Linked DNA regions of Homo sapiens: all the other regions are linked to region 1. Evidence: promoter capture Hi-C in 16 types of primary human blood cells and fetal thymus (Javierre and others, 2016). All regions are on one chromosome and are shown on one strand. The core of a region is centred on a gene start or on the middle of the fragment in contact, and the rest is flanking DNA. Distances in the headings are between cores, read along the strand shown.

The links. The method cuts DNA at HindIII sites, captures the fragments that hold promoters and counts their contacts. A CHiCAGO score of 5 or more calls a contact.
Region 2: a fragment that was not itself captured here is called in contact with the fragment with the promoter of GNA14 in region 1 in 1 of 17 cell types (endothelial precursors); the score reaches 6.4 in endothelial precursors.
Region 3: a contact is called between a fragment that was not itself captured here and the fragment with the promoter of GNA14 in region 1, in 2 of 17 cell types (erythroblasts and endothelial precursors). The highest score is 5.3, in erythroblasts.

The regions. Positions count from the first base shown.
Region 1 is chr9:77,645,564-77,650,222 of GRCh38, reverse strand. It overlaps GNA14 (G protein subunit alpha 14), which reads left to right and starts at 1,901. Exons shown (of 7, transcript NM_004297.4): 1 at 1,901-2,553. The coding sequence starts at 2,430. The HindIII fragment of the contact is 2,117 bases long and covers 1,523-3,639 here.
Region 2 is chr9:77,482,379-77,486,583 of GRCh38, reverse strand. The region is part of intron 2 of GNA14 (G protein subunit alpha 14); the gene reads left to right. The region is part of intron 2 of GNA14-AS1 (GNA14 antisense RNA 1); the gene reads right to left. Among named protein-coding and RNA genes, the nearest start is that of GNA14-AS1, 37 kb to the right of the region's middle. The HindIII fragment of the contact is 4,273 bases long and covers 3-4,205 here.
Region 3 is chr9:77,421,363-77,425,982 of GRCh38, reverse strand. It overlaps GNA14 (G protein subunit alpha 14), which reads left to right. Exons shown (of 7, transcript NM_004297.4): 6 at 268-421; 7 at 1,814-2,904. The coding sequence ends at 2,004. It overlaps VPS13A (vacuolar protein sorting 13 homolog A), which reads right to left. Exons shown (of 72, transcript NM_033305.3): 72 at 4,446-4,620. Among named protein-coding and RNA genes, the nearest start is that of GNA14-AS1, 24 kb to the left of the region's middle. The HindIII fragment of the contact is 581 bases long and covers 1,860-2,440 here.

The DNA.
Region 1 (4,659 bases), core at 652-3,151:
TTCATTCAATATATTTTGAGGATTTTCTCCAAATTTATTCACATGTTTACTACTCGCATATCCACATATTTAATGGCTCCAAAACATCTCATTGTATGGATAAACCATGATTTAAGTGATCTCTTCCCTGTTGTTAGGTATTTAGGTTGTGAGTTTTTGTTGTTGTATTGGCAATAAAACCTTTGCATCAGTCATGAGGCTTCTTTCTAGTTATTTCTTAAGGGAGAAATTACTGGTTTGGCCGAAGGGGACGGACATGTTTAAGGCTTCAGATATATACTGCCAAGCTGACTAGCCCAGGAAAGTTGTACAGATTTGCCCTAATCAATATGTTTCATAACTGTTTTTGAAATCTTGCCAACTTTAAACCTAATAGGTCAGTATCAGTAATTCCCGTTAACGTAAGAGTTCAAATTTGCCCTAGTTTTAATCATTTAAAAATTTTTTATAATTTTTAAATGATAACAATTATGATGCAACCATGACTTTGAGAAGCCAAGAGATCTTATTCTCAAATTGTAAATGAATCCGTAAGAGCTAAGAGAGAAGAAACAGGCTATTAAATGGCCAAAGATCAAATCTGAAATGTCCAGGAGTTTTCCTGTAGGGGTCACTGTTACTGTCAATTTATGCCTGCAAGAAAACTAAAATAGTCACACATTAAAGCATGTATGCACATTTTTAATGTCTGATTCCTCTACATTTCTTAAACTGTAAAATAATAAGAACATGCAGCCAGATAGCATCGCGATACCAACTTCTTTATATAATGACACGTACCATTCCACTCAATGTGCTCCTCAGTTTGAATTTATAAAATATATGCTACTCAAATGAAAGGCACTTATGCCTGCTCTTAGTAGAGGAAGCGCTAGCTAATTGCCTAACGCCCCATTAGCATATGGCCTATACTGACTTGAGAAGGAAAGAACGTTCATTGCTGTGGCCAATAGGATCCCCTCTCCCCACCTTCCCTTTTCTGCATCAAAATCTACACAGACAAAAGTCAGATGTTGTAATATGCATTTTATCGTGTCACTTAAGTACTAAGAGGTGCTTTTAAAGTTTTTATTAATGCTGCTCAAACTTGACCCCGACGGTCCAGGATACAGGCCAAGGTGTCAGTGCGGACACAATCGCAAGGCGGCTGTTAGGCTTCAGGGCTGGGCAGGAAACTTGCCAGGTGCTACTAGGAACGTATCAGCCCTTTCTACAAAGCAGGTGTCTTTCCCATCATAAAATGCAAAGCAATCAGCCGTTCCCTTTCTCCCCAGCCCCCTCGTCCGGAGACCGAGAGGATATTTACCCTGGGCTCTTGCAGTTCTCTTATAACTGAACCCAGCGGCGGCTCCTTCTCCGAGCTCAGAGCCAGCAGGCTCAGGCCCAGCCACACTTTACAGGCAAATTGCCGAGCTGACCAAGGGCTTTGGCCAAGCCCGAGCTGGGCCGGGGCGTCCGGGAAGCGGAAGGAGCCAGTCTAGGAAATCCGGGTGTGCGTGGTGGTGAAGCTGGTGGGCAAGCTTCCACTTCAGGTCCGGGGCTTTGTGTCCCGCAACAGACGCTTGGCGCCGCTCCTCTTCCAGCCTGCTGCCGCCTTCTCCGAGCGAGTGAGTTGGCGAAACTCACTCACCTGTCGGAACCCGGTGCCTGGCGGCCAGACGCGCAGATTACAGCAAACCTTGGCCGGGACGCCCCAGCCAGGGAGGCAAGTGTGGGAGCTGCTCCTAGAGGTGCCAGCTCCCACCCCCAGCTCCGCGCCCCCTGCTCGTCCCCTTTCACTTCCAGGCGCCTTCGGCTTGGGGTGCCCAGAAGGGCAAGTCCAGCAGACGCCAGGGCTGCAGGTTCAAGATGCTCCGCCTCCTCCTGCCACTTAGAGCCACAAACGCTAGCGGGAACCTTTCCACTCAGTCTTAGTCTGCGGTCACTGCTGAGGTTTTCAGAACTTTCCAGGCAAAGGCCAGCCAGGTCCTTTGCCTCCAACCCACTCCGCGCCTACCTCCCGCCTGGGGACACCCCTAGGCCCAGGAGATCCTACTCTCCCCCGAGCACCGACGTTCCAACTCGTCTGCGCCCCCGACTGCTGTCCGGCTCCTGTGCCAAGGGGCGCGCGCATCTTCCCGGGGCCAGCAACGCTCCCAACTTCTCGACTCGCCCTCCTCCTCCCCAGAGCGAGAGTGGGGCGGGCTGAGCCCGGATCCGGGGTGCACTCGAGCGTTCCCAGCGCTCGGCATTCACCCCGCCTCAGAGCCGACTTTCGAAGGGGGATTGAGCCTCGGAGGTCCAGGCGTCTTACTCCAAAGCTCAAGTCGGCCCCCGTCTTTTCTTTCCACACCCCTGTGCCCGTCGCATGCTGGCCGGGTGAGCGGCCGGGCCGAGGATTCGGGTGCCCGGGGCCGCGTCGCCCCGTCGGGTACTGAGCTGAGCGCACCATGGCCGGCTGCTGCTGCCTGTCCGCGGAGGAGAAGGAGTCGCAGCGCATCAGCGCGGAGATCGAGCGACAGCTTCGTCGGGACAAGAAGGACGCGCGCCGTGAGCTTAAGCTGCTGCTGCTGGGTGAGTGGCTGCGTCTCCGACTCCAGTGAGCCGGGCGTTTTTCTTCCGAGCCCTCCCGGCCTCTCCACTGGCACCCGCGCGGCCCTGGAGCCCAGCGGGGTGCAGGGCGGCTTCGTCCTTCTCCCCCTCGGAGCTCACGGATGCCAGCAACTTGGGGCCTTAGGTGCCTGTTCTTTCCATCTCTGGCTGGGCGACTTGCAAAAGCAACACCTTCCCCTGCCCCAAAACAGGATAGGGACCTGTAACACTTAACCTCTTGACCGCTGTACCTTATGTGTTCCGGTGTGCCCCTCTCCTCAAAACCCCGTCCACTCCTCCGCCCGCAGCACACCCAGCTTGGGGTCTGTGGTGACCCACATCTTGGGTTCAGCGCTAGCTCTGACCCGTACGCTTTCAGTTCTAGATGAAGCATCTTGAGAATTTACCATGTGCCAGATCGTGCTAAGTTCTTAAGGGCATCACCACCTGGTGATGCGGGCAGGTGATATCGCTATTCTAGAGAATTAAAACATGGAGGCCTGGAGAACTGACCAACTTGCCCTGATTGAGAAAAGGCAAAGCCGATGCTAGGTCAGCTGTGGGGGTGAAGCCCATGCCGTTGCTGCTCCTCTGACCGTGAGCTCCTATGCCTGCCTCCCATGGGGGTCCCTCAGGCCTTTGTGTTTGCAGCGGACCCAAACCTCCCTTGCCCAGCTTGACTCAGTGTGTCCACGTCCTAGGATTCAGCTTGGCTGCCCTGGTGCCTCTGGCAGGTCTTCATCCAGCTCTTTTGGTGTCTCTGCAAAGGTCTGGGTAGGACATCCACTTTCAAACACAGAAAGAACACAGTTTAAGGTTTGCCCAAGTTATGCCATGAGGCAAGGATCCCATCTCAGACTTTCTAGAACGCTGTCAACACATTTGCTGTTTGAGGAATATTTTACCTTTTCTACCTTTCAGACCATGATATCAGCTGTCAATTTTTTTCTAGATAGCCACAAAGATTTCAACTTTTTTTCTTTCACCCCTTTTGAACAGGAATCTTCTCTTATACCATCTATTTATTCATCTTTATTCCTTGTATAGGAATCACCCTCCCAGAAAGCTTCAAGGAAAGAAAAAGTTGATCTAGTTAGTGTAATATAGAGAAGGCTCTCAGCCAGTATGGCCTTCAGACCTGGGCGGAAGAACCCCCTTATCCTTATCCCCTGGGTTTAAAGGGCCCAGTCTGGCCTTCTGGGGGTTGGGGGGGGGTGTGCCCCTCCCCACAGAGCTGGAAGTCTGTAGGTCCAAAGGGGCTTGCTACCCAGAGACCATGCTGCCCCCTCCCTCCCAAGACCTGGATGGAATGAATACCCAGCCCAAAGGGACCCATACCAGCTTCTAAGGCCTGAGCCCTAGAAAAGAAGGCAGACCTGATCCCTGGAGAGCTCACAAAGGGGCAGCTGTTTGCTGGGGCGTAAAAGTGCTTGGAAATGTGGGCTGGGTAGGAGTGGAGGGAGTCCCCGTGGGTGCCCAAGAGGCCCCCCTAGGAGAGAGGGAGCTTGGGTGGGGAAGGGAAGGGGCTCTGTTCATTGGCCAGGTCTGCTATTTCTGTGTCTGACCCATAACTTTGAAAAGTCTGAAAATTCTAAATTGTCCCTGGCCTTCTAGGCTGTTATAAAGCTACCTTTGTCAAGGGAGGAGGAATACGTGAGAATTTGCTAGCTTGATTAACACTAGAAAATAACTATGGGTGCGGGGCTTTGTACTTTTGCCCTGAACCCCACAAACCAGAGGGGTTTAGTTGCGTATGTAACTTTTTTCTTTATAAGGGCAGGCTGAACCCTATTTCATTTTGCAATGCTTTGATTTGTGTCAATGTATGAAGTACAGTGTCCAGAATATACCAGGAGCTTGACAAATGCTGGCTCTTTGTATGAAAAATTGTGTAGTCAGCTGAGCTGTACTGTATTGGTAATAAGCCTGTTTGATGTAAAATTCTCGCATTTACCCACAAACTAGGGGAGAAATGTTTGTAGGTAAATTGTTTGCTCTGAAAGTCACATTAATCAGGGTGACCCGAGGGTCTTCTTTATCTTCCCAGGCCATTGCTCCAACCCTCCTCCTACCACCTTGAGGCACTGT
Region 2 (4,205 bases), core at 890-3,389, 160 kb after region 1:
CTTAGTGAGGAAGGCATGTAAAAAGCTGAGACAGCCAAAAGCTAGGCCTCTTGCACCAAATAGCCAAGTTGTAAATGCAAAAGAAAAGTTCTTCAAAGAAATTGGAAGTGCTACTCTAGTGAATACACAAATGATAAGAAAGTGAAATAGACTTATTGCTGATATGGAGAAAGTTTTAGTGGTCTGGATAGAAGATCAAACAGCTGTAACATTGCCTTGGCCAAAATTGAATCCAGAGCCAGGCCCTAACTCTCTTCGATTCTATGAAAGCTGAGAGGTAAGGAAGCTGCACAATAAAAGCTGGAAGTGAGAAGAGGTTGGTTCATGAGGATTATGGAAAGAAGCCATCTCTGTAACATAACAGTGCAAGGTGAAACAGCAGGTGCTGATGGAGAAGCTGCAGCAAGTTATCCAAAATATCTAGCTAAGATGATTGATGAAAGTGGCTACACCAAACCACAGATTTTCAATATAGATGAAACAGCCTTCTATTGGAAGAAGACAACATCCAGGACTTTCATAGCAAGAGAGAAGTCAATGCCTGGGTTCAGTGCTTCAAAGGACAGGCTGACTCTCTTGTTAGGGGTTAATGCAGCTGGAGACATTAAGTTGGAACTAATGCCAATTTACCATTCTAAAACCCTAGGGCCCTTAAGAATTGCACAAAATCTACTCTACCTGTGCTCTATAAATGGAACAACAAAGCCTGGATGACAGCCCATCTGTAGACAGAATGATTTACTGAATATTTTAAGCCTACTGTGGAGACCTACTGCTTAGCAAAAAAGATTCCTTTCAAAATATTACTACTCATTGACAATGCACCTGGTCACCTAAGCGCTCTGATGGAGATGTACAAGGAGATTAATGTGTTTTTTTTTAAATGGTTGCTAACAAAACATTGTTCTGAAGCCCATGGATCAAGGAGTAATTTTGACTTCCAAGTCTTATTATTTACAAAATGCATTTTTTAAGGCTATAGCTGTCATAGATAGTGACTTCTCTGATTGATCTGGGCAAAGTAAATTGAAAGCCTTCTGGGAAGGATTCACCATTCTAGATACCATGAAGAACATTTGTAATTCCTGAGAGGAAGTCAAATTATTAACAGGTGTTAGGCATAAGTTGATTCCAACTCTCATGGATGACTTTGAAGGTTCAGGACTTTGGTGGAGGAAGTAATTACAGATGTGGTAGGAGTATAAGAGAACTGGAATTAGAAGTGGAGCCTGAAGATGTAACTGAATTGCTGCAATCTCATTATAAAACTTGAAAAAATGAGGAGTTCCTTCTTATGGATGAGCAAAGAAAGTGATTTCTTGAGATGGAAACTACTCCTGTGGAGATGCTGTGAACATTTTTGAAATGACAACAAAAGATTTAGAGTATTATATAAGTTTAGTTGATAAAATAGTGGCAGGATTTGAGAGGATTAACTCAAATTCTACTGTAGGTAAAATGCTATCAAACAGCATCACATGACACGAAGTCTTTTATGAAAGGAAGAGTCAATCAATGCGGCAAACTTCATTGCTGCCTTAAGAAATTGCTCACAATCACCTCAACCTTTAGCAACCACCATCCTGAGCAGCCATCAACATAAGGAAAGATCCTCTGTGAGCAAAAAGATTATAACTTGCTGTATGCTCAGATGATCATTAGCATTTTTAAAAAATAAAATATTTTTCAAGTAAGGTACGTACAGTGTTTTTTTAGATATAATGCTATTGCACACTTAATAGACTACAATAGAGTATAAACCTAACTTTTGTATGTACTAGGAAACCAAAATTTGTGTGACTCATTTTATTGAAATTTTTACTTCATTACAGTGGCCTGGAACCAAATTCATAATGTCTCTGAGGTATGCCAGTATATATAGGGCTTGGTACTATCCATGGTTTTGGGTGTCCACTGAAGGTCTTGGAATATACCCTCCATGGATAAAGGGGACAACTGTACTACAAGATATAAAATGAAAAAGAGCAGTCCCCTGCCTCATCCCTGATTCATACTACCACAAAGTGTAGTACTCTTACTTTCTAATGGAAACAATTTTATATCCCTGCCTACAGCACCCACACCCACCCACCCACACTTGTATTCCTTACATTGTTATATAACAATTTGTGATGAAATCGTTTATCACTTATGATTATATAAATATTGTTCACAGTTGAGCCATTTCTAACCATGATCACAATTCTCTTTTTGAACACGTTTTAATTTTTTCCAAGAAGGTTGTTTTATGTGCCCATTAGTAGTTTATTCCTAAACTTTGAGGCAGAATTATAAAACTCCTCTTAAGACAAACTGTATTTATAAATTCCATTTTTTCTCTTGGATATGTTTCACTTTAAGCTCTTCATCCTCCTACTCTGAGCTAGATTGATTGTTCTTTTAATTGACTGCAAGTTCTGATTATGACACTTCCCTTTACCTCTTTACTGTGTTCCAGTTGTTATTTCTTCTTCTTTCTGATTCTGTGTTTACCTGGAGCACATCCTTTCATGTTCTCCAAAGAAAAGGGGCATGGGAGAGAAATTGTTTTGTATTCTTGAATGTCTTAAATGTCTTATTCTGCCCTTAGACTTGATCAATATTTGTCTGGGTATTGAATTCTAGTTTGAAAGTCATTCTCACTCTGATTTTGAAAGCATTACTATCTTTTATTTTGTGTTTGTTTTTTGAAAAATCTAATGTCATTCTAATTCTACATTCCTTATATATTCTCTTTTTCTCAAAGAATGTCATACCTTCATTTTATCCCTACGGTTATTGAGGTGGGTTATTTCCCATTCATTATGCTGGGTCCTCCAGAGCTCTTTCAGTCCAAAGATTTATGTGCTTTAGTTCTGGGAATTTTCATATAAGACTCCTTTAAAGGAGGCCAGCCTGCCTCTGTAGGCTCCACCTCTGGGGGCAGGGCACAGACAAACAAAAAGACAGCAGTAACCTCTGCAGACTTAAATGTCCCTGTGTGACAGCTTTGAAGAGAGTAGTGGTTCTCCCAGCATGCAGCTGGAGATCTGAGAACGGGCAGACTGCCTCCTCAAGTGGATCCCTGACCCCTGAGCAGCCTAACTGGGAGGCACCCCCTATTACGGGCAGACTGACACCTCACACGGCCGGGTACTCCTCTGACACAAAACTTCCAGAGGAACGATCAGGCAGCAGCATTTGCAGGTCACCCATATCCGCTGTTCTACAGCCACCGCTGTTCGGCAGCCACTGCTCCTGATGCCCAGGCAAACAGGGTCTGGAGTGGACCTCTAACAAACTCCAACAGACCTGCAGCTGAGCGTCCTGTCTGTTAGAAGGAAAACTAACAAACAGAAAGGACATCCACACCAAAAACCCATCTGTACGTCACCATCATCAAAGACCAAAAGTAGATAAAACCACAAAGATGGGGAAAAAACAGAGCAGAAAAACTGGAAACTCTAAAAAGCAGAGCACCTCTCCTCCTCCAAAGGAACGCAGCTCCTCCCAGCAATGGAACAAAGCTGCACGGAGAATGACTTTGATGAGTTGAGAGAAGAAGGCTTCAGACGATCAAACTACTCTGAGCTACAGAAGGAAATTCAAACCAATGGCAAAGAAGTTAAAAACTTTGAAAAAAAATTAGACGAATGGATAACTAGAATAACCAATGCAGAGAAGTCCTTAAAGGACCTGATGGAGCTGAAAGCCAAGGCTCAAGAACGACGTGAAGGATGCAGAAGCCTCAGGAGCTGATGCAATCAATTGGAAAAAAGGGTATCAGTGATGGAAGACGAAATGAATGAAATGAAGCAAGAAGAGAAGTTTAGAGAAAAAAGAATAAAAAGAAATGAACAAAGCCTCCAAGAAATATGGGACTATGTGAAAAGACCAAATCTAGGTCTGATTGGTGTACCTGAAAGTGACAGGGAGAATGGAACCAAGTTGGAAAACACTCTGCAGGATATTATCCAGGAGAACTTCCCCAATCTAGCAAGGCAGGCCAACATTCAGATTCAGGAAATACAGAGAACTCCACAAAGATACTCTTCAAGACGAGCAACTCCAAGACACTTAATTGTCAGATTCACCAAAGTTGAAAGGAAGGAAAAAATGTTAAGGGCAGCCAGAGAGAAAGGTCGGGTTACCCACAAAGGGAAGCCCATCAGACTAAGAGAGATCTCTCGACAGAAACTCTACAAGCCAGAAGAGAGTGGGGACCA
Region 3 (4,620 bases), core at 901-3,400, 220 kb after region 1:
CGTTCCATGTGAGTTTTGGGCTGGAGAAGAGCTGGGATGCTACAGGAGAGGGGACCCAGAAGGGGATGGTTAGTAAGAGGCTTGGGGAGGGGCAAACAGAAGCAGGAGGCCTGTAGCCTGGGGCCCCACATGCTCACCAGCTTCAGCAGACAGTGGCCCAGAGACTGCGGCGGGGCAAGGGAAGAGATGGATGGACTGGCAATGCGCCATGTTGTTTCCAAAATATTTCCTTTCTACTTCATCCCAAGTCCCTTGTTTTTCACTTAGAATCGCATGGAAGAGAGCAAAGCCTTATTTAAAACCATCATCACCTACCCCTGGTTTCTGAATTCGTCTGTGATTTTATTCTTGAACAAGAAGGATCTTTTGGAAGAGAAAATCATGTACTCTCATCTAATTAGCTATTTCCCAGAATACACAGGTAAGTGTCTATCTTGTGGACAGTGTTTTCTGTGCTGATCTCGTCCACCTCCCGGGCATCAGTCTAGAGTTATCACGGCTCAAAGGGGCCTCCCTGGTCTGCCTGCAATAGCCTCTCCCCCTATTCCCACCTTCAAACAGAAGCTCTAGTTGCACCATTGTTGTGTTTTCACCACAGCACCTCCACATGTGCTTCCCTCAGTGCTTGGAATACCCTTACCAACTCCTTTCGCTGCCTCCATGTTGTTCTCCAAAACCCAGCAAAGGCCTCCCCTTCTCTGGGAGCCTTTCTGGCTTCCCCTGCCCATCTGGTCTGCAGGAAGGGTGCCTCCTCCTTTCTGCTCCCTCAGCAGCCTAACCCCTGCTTGCTCTCTTGGCCACATCATGCTATGTCATATCCTCTGCTCACTCAGCTCTCTTCCCAGTCGGCTCCATGAGGGTAGAGACTCTGCTTGATTTATCTGTGCATTCCTCATGCCAGTCAGAGCACCTGGTGCTTCTTATGTGTATGTTAGAGTGTGGCATCCCTTTTCCCAGACACATGGTGGACTCACATAACCTGTCCAAGGTAGGAGAGTCTCATGCCCTGTTGCTAATTGTTTCTGGTACAGGAGGTCTCAAACCTTAAGTTTGACACTGATATTTAGTGGATTCATGTTTTAGCACTCTTCTTTCCCCTTTTACTAACCATACTGGCTGTGTAGTGTAGCACCCTCGAGCTTTAAAATCAGCCTGATGTTAGTTCCCACATTCTTCCTTTTATCTCTCCTAGACCAGAGCTGTCTGTCCATATGTGTTAGCCAGGATTACTTCTCTTCAATAGTGGTCCAAATCAGACAAATTGGGTCACTATGTTTAAACAAATCACTGTAAAGTACAATTTTTAGATACCAGAGGACATTTTAAAATATGACTATTTTATGGGTTCATGATGAGATACCATAAAAATAATGCTCCAGGTAAACCGTTCCCTGGAAATAAAGATGGATCAAAGCAGGATCTCAAATAAGAACAAGAATACATTAAAAAATGGTTCTTGGGGCCAGGCACGGTGGCTCACGCCTGTAATCCCAGCACTTTGGGAGGCCAAGGCAGGTGGATCACCTAAGGTCAGGAGTTCGAGACCAGTCTGGCCAACATGGTAAAACCCCGTTTCTACTAAAAATACAAAAATTAGCTGTGTGTGGTGGTACGCATCTGTAATCCCAGCTACTTGGGAGGCTGAGGCAGGAGAATTGCTTGAACCCCAGAAGCAGAGGTTGCAGTGAGCTGAGACCGTGCCACTGCACTCCAGCCTGGGCTACAGAGCGAGACTCTGTCTCAAAAAAAAGGTTCTTGGGAGGACATGGTGTTAAGTCTGTGTCTTTATTCCTGTAATTGCACTTGTGACTAGGACCGAAACAGGATGTCAGAGCTGCCAGAGACTTTATCCTGAAGCTTTACCAAGATCAGAATCCTGACAAAGAGAAAGTCATCTACTCTCACTTCACATGTGCTACAGATACAGACAATATTCGCTTTGTGTTTGCTGCTGTCAAAGACACAATTCTACAGCTAAACCTAAGGGAATTCAACCTTGTCTAAAAGCTGCTGCCCACTCCTCCCCTATAACAGAAGATGTGATTTGCAAACTCCTTGTTTTATTTGCAAGTGCTTCTGACATCACCAGAGCCAGCCCCATGCCAGGAACTAAGGATGTCATGTAGATCGTGGGGACAGAGATGGGTGATGGAACTTGGAAGATATTTGAGTTTACCAACATACTTTAAAAGTCCTTACATCCCAAATTGTGTTTATAATTATTTTCTTGACTTTTGGCTATAAGATTTTGTGTAATTTTTGAATTTGGTGTTTTCTAGAATTTTTAAAAGCCACTTTGATTTAGTTTTAAATATGTTTAAAAATAGCGATTAAAATTATGTAAGCAAGGAGCCTGTTAGTTTATAGATCATGCCTTCAAACCTCTAGAGTTAATTTGGGTGACTTTTTTAAAAATAAGAATGTTAATGGGTTTGAAGCTTTTTATTAAACCTTGTAATTTAGAGACATTTTTAATTGTGTTTCTCACCTCATGCTGAAGGGTGACTCCTTTAACATGCCACCAAAGATTTTTTTTAAACACTTGGTTCTTTTTGTGTGTTAACTTTCTAAGCCAAATTAATGGATATATAAGTATATCTAATTTAGCTTTGCCACAGTTTGATCACCAAGAAGCCAAAGCTGACATAGAGTAAATGGGCTCTAGATAGCATATATGTTTTATTGGTGAAAAATGTGTGTGTGTGCACGTGTGTGTGTGTGTACATTTTTACCCCCAATGTATATGACCAGATCTTAAAAATGTATGAAATGGCTAGAAGTCCACATTGTTTGACAAATGTTACGTAACCCTGCCAAAGTTCTGATGGCCACCACAGATTTGCTGTTTGAATTATGTATGCTGTGCCTTTCTGAGGAGGCTAAGAATATACCATTCTGCTATTAGCACTGGGTTATGTTGTGTTTCTTAGAGCTCATGGTTGACTGATGGTTCTGCTCCTAAACAGAAAAATGCTGTGGCCTTAATAGTAACTCGGAAACTTTCCTAAGATTCCTCCTTTCAAGGCAAGTCTGCGCATCATCGTGTCATGCTGCAGTTCCCTCAGTAGCTGGCTGGGTCAAGCAGAAGGAGAATCCTCTGGGAATTAAGAGTGCTCCACACTAAAGGCCAAGATGGTTTTGTGCATGTGTGCACACATGTGTGTGCACACACACATACACCATTTGGGGACGTAAGGTATGAAATATCTGTCTCAAATCAGTCTATAAAATGCACCTCGGTTGGCTACATATGTTATGGAACCATGTGTCCCCATTCTGTGGGAACAATTCCAATTGCTGAAAAAGACTGAAATTATTCTGATATGCAGCAATTCTACAATAGCAACATCTAGCTTTAAAAATATGAATCCTCACTCAAGAGATAAATGCAATAGCAACAGCTTTTGTGGAAGTTCACAAATTGATGTTAAAATTTATCTAGAACAGTAAAGTCCAGAAATAGCCGAGACAGTTTTGCGTGAGAACAGAGAGAGGGGAATGGAGCTCTTTAGGATATCTAGAAGCACAAAGAAAATACAAGACAATTCCCCTCCCCACCAACGATGGGCTAAAGGCTATGGACTGGGTTTCACTAGCCAATTAACATAAAAAGGGTTCAACAGAATCCAGTCATCTGGGAAATTAAACCATGAAGAATTCCATTTCTTATTTTAAGCACTTTCTTGCATTGAGTTTTTGTTAATTTATAGTTGGCTGACTACTTAAAGCATATAAGAAAATGATGGCTTTCCATATCCTGGTTGTGGGAGGGCTGTTAAATAAGTCATTCAAAGGGTGGTAACAATATTTTCTTAAGGCATGGAAAGGCTAGACTCTCAATGTCAGAGGTGAATTAATTACCTCTGCCAATACTGATTCTGCTGGTAGAAAATTCTCTCCTGGCCCTTCATTCAATATTCTCATTACTTACTGGGGAAATGAGTCATGCGGAGTTTTCTAAGGTTAAGAGACAGAATGTCGGTGGTTAAGAATTCACTAGGTCGAGACAATCCTGGCCAACATGGTGAAACCCCATCTCTACTAAAAAAAAAAAAATACAAAAATTAGCTGGGCGTGGTGGCACACACCTGTAGTCCCAGCGACTCGGGAGGCTGAGGCAGGAAGATCACTTGAACCTGGGAGGTGAACGTTGCAGTGAGCCGAGATCGTGCCACTGCACTGCAGCCTGGTGACAGAGCAATACTGTCTGTCTCAAAAAAAAAAAAAAAAAGAGAATTTACTAGGTACTATACCACCCCAAGCTTTTAGTCAGCAATGATCATGCTGGGCTGGAATGTCGCCTGCTTTGACTGAAAAATCAGGACCTTGGGCAATCTGTTATTCACATTTGTTTCAGCCCCAAAGAGGGTGGAATTTATATAGGCAAGGGAAGGGTATTAATAATGTTTCTAGTTCTATCAAAAAACTAAAAACAGAAGCAGACCAAAGATCAGAAATCTTTATTTGACAAAGGTATACATGGTGAAAATGGGCAGTCATCTTACCATGCAATCCAAATCTACCAATACCAAGAAATGCTTATTGTTAAGAAAAAAAATCATTAGTGAGCATGGCCAACCAATTTTTAGAGAGAGGAATAAAAGAATAAGATTAGTTTCA